Linked DNA regions of Homo sapiens: regions 2 and 3 are each linked to region 1. Evidence: promoter capture Hi-C in 16 types of primary human blood cells and fetal thymus (Javierre and others, 2016). All regions are on one chromosome and are shown on one strand. Each heading gives the region's core, a stretch centred on a gene start or on the middle of the fragment in contact. The rest is flanking DNA. Distances are from core to core; before and after follow the strand shown. Region 1 holds the start of H2BC17 (H2B clustered histone 17). Region 2 holds the start of BTN2A1 (butyrophilin subfamily 2 member A1). Region 3 holds the start of ZNF322 (zinc finger protein 322).

The links. The method cuts DNA at HindIII sites, captures the fragments that hold promoters and counts their contacts. A CHiCAGO score of 5 or more calls a contact.
Region 2: a contact is called between the fragment with the promoter of BTN2A1 here and the fragment with the promoter of H2BC17 in region 1, in 1 of 17 cell types (neutrophils). The highest score is 5.3, in neutrophils.
Region 3: the fragment with the promoter of ZNF322 here is called in contact with the fragment with the promoter of H2BC17 in region 1 in 2 of 17 cell types (neutrophils and monocytes); the score reaches 8.0 in neutrophils.

Annotation. Positions count from the first base shown.
Region 1 is chr6:27,892,120-27,894,797 of GRCh38, forward strand. It overlaps H2BC17 (H2B clustered histone 17), which reads left to right and starts at 1,306. Exons shown (of 1, transcript NM_003527.4): 1 at 1,306-1,772. The coding sequence starts at 1,344. The coding sequence ends at 1,724. It overlaps H2AC17 (H2A clustered histone 17), which reads right to left and starts at 1,066. Exons shown (of 1, transcript NM_003514.2): 1 at 580-1,066. The coding sequence starts at 1,030. The coding sequence ends at 638. RefSeq lists enhancers at 192-735, 340-389, 736-1,279, 1,300-1,539, 1,930-2,069. The HindIII fragment of the contact is 3,889 bases long and covers 1,138-2,678 here.
Region 2 is chr6:26,456,616-26,459,293 of GRCh38, forward strand. BTN2A1 (butyrophilin subfamily 2 member A1) reads left to right here and starts at 1,340. Exons shown (of 8, transcript NM_007049.5): 1 at 1,340-1,527; 2 at 1,992-2,103. The coding sequence starts at 2,022. RefSeq lists enhancers at 951-1,210, 1,371-1,530. The HindIII fragment of the contact is 11,033 bases long and covers 1-2,678 here.
Region 3 is chr6:26,658,450-26,661,127 of GRCh38, forward strand. It overlaps ZNF322 (zinc finger protein 322), which reads right to left and starts at 1,297. Exons shown (of 4, transcript NM_024639.5): 1 at 992-1,297; 2 at 109-197. RefSeq lists enhancers at 727-1,227, 948-997, 1,008-1,197, 1,228-1,728, 1,428-1,487 and 1 more. The HindIII fragment of the contact is 5,113 bases long and covers 1-2,678 here.

The DNA of each region.
Region 1 (2,678 bases), core at 56-2,555:
TGCAGTGGCGTGATCTCGGCTCACTGCAACCTCTGCCTCCTGGGTTCAAGCGATTCTCCTGCCTGTCTCCTTAGTAGCGCTCGCCACCACGCCCGGCTAATTTTTGTGTTTTTAGTAGGGACAGGGTTTCACCATGTTTGCCTGGGTGGTCTCGATCTCTTGACCTTGTGATACACCCTCCTCGGCCTCCCAAAGTGCTGGGATTACAGGCGTGAGCCACCGCGCCCAGTCATTTTTTTTTTAAGAGGCAGGGGTCTCGTTATCAGGGTGGTCTCGAACTCCAGGTCCCTAGAGATTTCTCCCCTCCCCACCCACCTGCCTCAGTTTCCCAAAATGCTAAGGACGCATAAACCACCGCGCCCGGCCCCAAGTTTTTTAAAGACCCAGGACAGTTTGTGGGGAGGGGACAATTAAGGAGGTTCCTTCATGTTATAAGGTAGCAGTTGGATAGTATTTACTAGGCCTGATTCAATACTTTTATTTTACCCAATAGGAAAGTAATGGCCTCAGTGCTTGAACTCGGCCACAAATTTCTGATAGGTTTGGAGAACAGAGTGCTCAGTTCTTCCGTAGAAATGGTGGGTGGCTCTGAAAAGAGCCTTTTGTCTTGTAAGTTTACATTTTTAAAGTTCAGCCCTTACTTGCCCTTAGCTTTGTGGTGGCTCTCAGTCTTCTTGGGGAGCAGTACGGCCTGGATGTTAGGCAGAACACCGCCCTGAGCGATGGTAACTTTACCAAGCAGCTTGTTGAGCTCCTCGTCGTTGCGGATGGCCAGCTGCAAGTGGCGCGGGATGATGCGGGTCTTTTTGTTGTCGCGGGCTGCGTTGCCCGCCAGCTCCAGGATCTCGGCAGTTAGGTACTCCAGCACCGCCGCCAGGTAAACCGGCGCGCCGGCCCCGACCCGCTCAGCGTAGTTGCCCTTGCGGAGCAGGCGGTGCACTCGTCCTACAGGAAATTGGAGCCCAGCTCTAGAGGAGCGGGTTTTGGCCTTGGCGCGAGCCTTGCCGCCCTGCTTGCCACGTCCAGACATGGTAAAACGACCTGTGGCCTAAGTCAGAAAGTGAGTGAAAGGAACCTACAGGGACGCGCATTTTATAGCAGCTGCTGGGCGCGAAAAAGAAGCTGGGCCATTGGCTAAGCTTGCAGCTTCCTCTTAATGCAAATGAGCTTTCTGAATATACGTGTTTTGATTGGACTATATTGATATTAACGTCATCTGAGTAACTTCCAATCAGACAGAAGAATTTCTCAATCTCATCTGCATATAGACTTGTAAATAAATAGGGCATAACCCAGCTTGTCCTCATTCTTGTTATTTGAGTGCTCTTTCACTCTCCTCCGCCATGCCCGACCCGGCTAAATCTGCTCCTGCCCCCAAAAAGGGCTCCAAGAAAGCCGTAACCAAGGCCCAGAAAAAGGACGGCAAGAAGCGCAAGCGCAGCCGCAAAGAGAGTTACTCTATCTACGTGTACAAGGTGCTGAAGCAAGTCCACCCCGACACCGGCATCTCATCGAAGGCCATGGGCATCATGAACTCCTTCGTCAATGACATCTTTGAGCGCATCGCTGGCGAGGCTTCCCGCCTGGCGCATTACAACAAGCGCTCGACCATCACCTCCAGGGAGATCCAGACGGCCGTGCGCCTGCTGCTGCCCGGGGAGCTGGCCAAGCACGCCGTGTCCGAGGGCACAAAGGCCGTCACCAAGTACACCAGCTCCAAGTGAGCTCTCGCAGCTGCCAGCAATCCAAAGGCTCTTTTCAGAGCCACTCACGCTTCCAGAGAAAGAGCCTGTGCATTTTGCTTGTAGTCTTTTGGGTGGACTCCGGCCGGCCTCCATTAGGAGGGAAGACGGCGGGAAAAGGTAAGCTAAGCTCCCTAGGCTTTTTGCGTGTGAGTATAGACGCTCCATCAGACAAATTTAGCTTGGGTTCTTAGATACCCTTGGGGAAAAAGGCTTGCAGTTGTGCTTTAAGCTATAATTACAAGTTTGCTTTCGGTTTTCGGTTACTCTTTCCTTTTGTGTTGTTTTTTTTTTTTTTTTTTAAATGGAGTCTTGGCTCTGTCGCCCAGGATAGAGTGCAGTGCCGCGATCTCGGCTCACTGTAAGCTCCGTCTCCCGGGTTCAACCAATTCTGCTTCGGCCTCCTAAGTAGCTGGGATTACAGGCGCCCGCCACCGTGCCCGACTAATTATTGCATTTTTAGTAGAGACGGAGTTTTACCGTCTTGACCAGGCTAGTCTCGAACTCCTGACTTCGTGATCCACCCATCTCGGCCTCCCAAAATGTTGGGATATCAGGCGTGAGCCATCGCGCGCGGCCGGGTTATTCTTTCAGTGCCTGTAACGTCCCCCTTCTTTGATTGGTCAACGCTCTATTTGAAAAGCCCGCCAAGGGCTGCAATTTGCCAGATAGTCTCATCCGGGTTGTTTTTCGAAGAGGTTCTCCCGGAATGGAAATGACCGTTATCTGCAGGAGTGCATCGGACTCTGGCGCCAAGAGCTGGAAGCTGTGAATTAACCGTCCCTCTTACTGCAGTTGTACGGATCCTGGGTGACATTGACTTACCGGTGTCCATTTTCCATACACTTTAGAGAATAGGCATCTCGTCTGGCATCGCTGCAGATATGTTAGGGTGGGTTGAAATTATTGGTGTCAAAGCGGGACGGGAAACATTAA
Region 2 (2,678 bases), core at 90-2,589, 1.4 Mb before region 1:
GTGGGAATGACCTTACCCTGAGCATGTCACTCATGCATTGAACAACAGCTAAGAGCAGAGCTTAGAGCTTAGAGCTGGGCCCTGTAAGGTGAGAGGAATCACATCCTGCAGAAGTCTGTCCTGAGAAGCAGGTACTCCTGTCACAGCAGAGACACAGTGGATACCTGAGTAACAATAATACAAGACAGGACGTGGGAACAGCAAAAGATTTGGGTGTCAGAAGAGGCCGAGAACACTTCAGGCAGGAACATTCAGAGTTGTTCTTGGAGGAAGTAGGCACGAAGGCTGGGCAGGATTTCACGGGGCAGAGATGGAGCAAGCAATTGAAATGAAAGCCATGGCATGGGAAAAGGAGCACTGGCCACAGGGAGTGCAACGTTGTGATGCAAGGCCACTGTGGAGCCATTGCTAGCGTATTAACTGCAAAGTTTTGAATTGAATCAGAAGGGAATTGGAGGCCTCCAGACTAAGCATTTAGACACTTGAGGGGAATATTGACAACTGGGCCTCGGGAAGATTATTCTGGAAGATATCTTTACAATTACAAGATTGGAGCCTTTGGGAGAGGGATGATGTTTACGGGAGGATGGTATGTGTGCTAGTGTGTGTGTCTGTGTGTGGCTCTTGGACCCAACCTGACCACCTACTATCTAGAAGGTGAAGGACAACTAGAAAGTTTTGCTCAATTCCATCTTCTGCCACCACCAGAATGCCACCTCCCTGAGGGAAAAGGTTTTTGATCCTCAGTCAGGATTCTCAGCACCTCTTATCCGATAGCTTTGGAATGAATGGCAAGGCCTTCATAACAGCCACTGCAACTGCTGTCTCCTTTCCTTTGCTACCCCTCCCGCTCCAGCCATGCCAGCTTCCCCCAAGCCCTCCTGCGCTCCAGGCCCAACCTCCAAAGCCAGCAACTTGAACAGGAGTCCTCTGGCTTTGGAAAGGGGGCGGCTTACGTTTTCCTGCTCATGTTTCCTCCCCAGCAAAATTGCCCTCTACATAGAGAGGCCTCTCCTTGTGGACACCAGCAAAGCCACCGACCTCAGTGACAAACCCCAGGGAATCTCCCCAAGGAATCTCAAAGCGAGAGAGAGAGAGAGAGTCTTGAGAGAGAAAGAGAGAGAGAGAGAGTCTTGCTTTCGAACAAAGAAAAAGGAAATAAAAAGACCCGATAATCTCAAAAGGTTATTTGCTGCTTGAAATTTGTGATTCGGTGTATTCTACCCAGCAACTGCTGAGAAATAAGGTTCGACACCATTGGCTGGTTCACTCACACCCGGCCAATCCTGGGCTCTAAAATACTTAGGGAACTCTTGGGACTGTGGAAGCCCAGGAGACCAGATTTCGTTTCCTGCATCTCCAAACATGGCGACCTAGGAGAAGGGGAAGAACAATTTTTTCTCCTCTTTTGGGAAGGTTTGTGTCTAGTAGTGCCTGTGCCCCTGGGCAGATTGGAGAGAAGAGGGACGACTGGAGAATCGTCGAGAACCAGCGGAGAAAAGAAAAAGCAACGTTTAATTCTAGAAGGTAGGAAACGGAGGGGAGGCGCTACAGCTCCGGGGTGGGCACAGTAGGTGGGGGAAGCGGGGTCTGCTGTGGACACGAGACGGGGTCCTGGGACAGGGAAAGCCCACCGGTGGGGAGGCGCGGCCTCGCCTGTCTTTGCCTCAGGCTGCCCGGCCTGGGTCGCGGGGAGGAGGAAGTGAAGGGAGGAGGGTGTGGTAGAATCCAGCGACAACTGAAGAAACTGCATTCTGGCCAGAGAAGTGAGCCGAGGAGGGCGGAAAAAGGCCCCCTTGATCTTGGCATTGATGGCTTACTTCATGGAATGTTTAAGGAATCCCTCTCTCGGGACATACCTGAGCCTTCGGATGCAGGGGACTCCCTGAAGTTGGGGCACTGATGAGACCTACTTGAGTGACGGGAGAGGTTGGGCCCGACCAGCACTGAGGTGCCAAGACTCCTAGGCTGATTCTCCTCTGTAACCCTAGGCCTCCTGTCCCTGCCTGCTCTGGGTGCTCATGGAATCAGCTGCTGCCCTGCACTTCTCCCGGCCAGCCTCCCTCCTCCTCCTCCTCCTCAGCCTGTGTGCACTGGTCTCAGGTAGGGATGTGTGCCACTTGCTGCTGTCACCTATCAGAAAGGAACATCAACCCTGTAGTCTGCAAAGGGAAAGAAAGAAGGACTGTGGAGTTGTTGACTTACCCTTTCATTCTGAACATGTTCATTGAATTTATACCAGCACTGTCCAAAAGGAATACAGTGAGGCACAAAGGCCGAGTGCATGTACAATTGCAAATTTTCAAAAAAAATTAAATTTTACTTTTTATTTTAAAAAGTAAAAAGAAACATGAAATAAATTTGTATACTATATTTTGTTTCGCCCCAAATAATCAAATACGAATATTTAAATACTTAGTTAATATACCATATTACCAATGAGATAGTCAACATTTTGAAATTTTAAATCTTCATAATCCTGTGTGTATTTTACACTTACAGCTCATTTCAGTTGGAACTAGCTAGTGGATATGTGTCCTATTGCACGGCTCAAGTTTACAGTACACTCAGGCACAGCACTAGATTGGGAAATCGAGGAAAATCCCCTCAAGGGCACAGGGTGGACAGAGGGTGCTCAGGGCAGGTTCCTCAGGGTTTCCTTCATGAAGCAGAAGCAC
Region 3 (2,678 bases), core at 47-2,546, 1.2 Mb before region 1:
ATTCTCTTTTTCCATATATCTTCTCCCATACTTTCCTGTCTTTCACCCTGCCCCACCCCACACCCCCATCCACATTTATACAGAAACAGAGCCTGGTATACCACTTACCGTAACAAGAAAGACTCAAGACCATCTTCCTTTTGGTTTCAAAAGGTCTCTAGTTCAGAACTATTCACAACACTCAATTCTTGCCTCTCCTAGAGGAAAAATCAATAATGTAGACGATGACCTTGTGAAATTTATAATTCATAATTTTTCTAGAGCTGGCCTAGAAAACTGGTCCCATTTCCTCTCCATTCTAGTGAGCATCCTTCAACCATAGCTTACCTCTTCCCATCTTTGCTTACACTGTTTCTCCTGCAGGAAGTACCTGCCACTGGTAGCCATCAGTTCCGACCAGCTCTAGACAAAATGTCAAGAATCTTTCTATTACTAACTGTAACTTCATAACAAAGCCCTAAGCCTCGTTTTTCGTTTGTTTTTTCTCCTTCTGCTAATTGTTTTTGTTTGTATTATCTCAACTCCTAAGATCAAAGACCCATTCGTCTACCACTACAAACCCCAAAGTGCATGTGATAAGTGTATATAATATAAAGTTATCTGTAATTCCATTTTCCAAAAAGAAATGGTTATAGGAAGATTAAACAAACCAGATTTTTCTGCAGATAGATTCAACTGCAACATAACTAATTTCTGCACTGAAGATGAAGCGAAAAATCCATTCAAGGTCCTTTTTTTCCTCGATATATATGAAAGATTATATTGCTTTGAAAAGTGCCTTGCAGTGTTTACTATCTCTAGGAACTACCGTACTAAGGTTCTCTTCTTTCAACTTTTCATTGACCATCTTTCAGTCCTCCGTCCGCCGTCAGCGGAGACCAGACCATGCTCAGTGTCCAGGAACAGGGGCTGCTCCCACTCGACTGTGGCCGTGGGTCTTGGGTCCCACCGCGCACCCATCCCACCCCTGGGCCCCGCAGGCCGCGCTTACCCTGGCAGCCGCCGGCGCCGCCCCTAGGCCTGGGGACAGCACTTCCGGTTACTCTCCGGACACTCGAATCTGGGCTTCCTGGCGGCCGCAGACTCTGCGATAGTAGATCTAAGGGCCAGGCTTCGGGAAGGAAAGAAAAGCGAACCCGGCACGGACAAGACCTAGGAGCAACTCCCTTCGTGCGCCTAGACTAGAGGAGTTGGGGCCAGGCCGCCCACAGAGCGCTTTAACAGAGCGCTTCAAGGGCCCACAAGGCCGGCTACGCAAACCCTTTCAAGCTGGCTGGGAAGAGGCCGGCGCAGCCCCACCCCCGCAAGTCACATGATCACCCCTCTCCGGCCACTAGGGCGTTCCAACCCCGGCCCCTGGGCCAATAGGAGCCGAGTCTTCGGAAAGGGGCGGGGCCCGGGGCGCCTGCGCTCTGGGAGCCCTCGGCGTTTTGGTGGGAGGGGGTCTTGCTGGCGCAGTGGAAGGCCGGCTGCGGGGGGAGGCGATCGCTGCCACCCTGTCTAAGAAGAAACGGCACCAACAGCGTTGCAGTTTATGTTACAGTTTCCCCAAGGCTGTTAACCGAGGACTCAAACCAGGAGTAGAGTCACAAAGATTAGATGCCACTGACCCTGAGAGAAACACCAGGAAAGATCTGGGAGAGATAGAGGATTCTGAAGCACAGTGGCAGCGCTGTCATCCACGAAGATGTGGCCAGCGAGATGGAAGAAATGCTTTTAAAAGTGGTGGACTTGTGTGGGTGGAGAAAACAGCAGCGAGAGAAAGTACTGTGGGAGGTTCCCCAGTCCTTGCTGATTATGTTTCTGATTTGGAATCAGCTAAGAGTAAATCACCTAGTGGTGGGGCTGGAACAGAACTCAGTTCTTTAGGTTGAACACTGGGTATTCTCCCAGCTCAATTGTTAAATTAAAAAAAACAAACCAACAAAAAACAGTTTTTAAATGTCCTCAGCTATCAAAGGGAAAAGATGAGTAGTAGGAATATGGAAAACTAAACCCTGGGCAGCCTGGCCAAGGACTTGGATTGTGAGCCAGTTGCTGAGGTTTAGTAATTGGGGAGCGCAGTCTCTGAGACACGTATTCAGTATTAACTAATCATGTTCCTACTAGTGGAATTCTTCCGCAGAGGGTCTACAGCTTATTCTACTTTCATGTTTATTTTTAATGAAACTTTCAAGGTCAAAATATTCCACTCAGGGTTGTCTTAATATTTTGAATAATAACATTTTGAGTGTGTAGCATGTATCAAACACTGTTCTAATAACTTTACACTATTGTCTCATTCAGTTGTAACAAAAATCGTGTGAGATATGTATTCTTTTAGGAGGAAACTGGTGCACAGAGAGATTAAGTAGCTTGCCCAGGATCACATATTACTGATGAAGCTGTAATGTGAACAGTCTGATGCCAGATTCTGTGCTTGCAGTCACTATACTTATGGCTACCTCAATAGTGGTGAGTGTATTGTGTAAAATTATTGGAATAAAAATTAAGCAAGTTGGATTCTGATCTCTGCACTGCATATAACAAGGTCTGAATATGTGTAGAATTGAACTGTTCAACCTTTTCTTTCAGGATACATTGGCCCAAAGTACTCTTTATTAATTGTTTTATTCAGTTAAACATTTATTGAGCACCTCCAATTAACAGGACACCATAGGCCGGGCACGGTGGCTCAC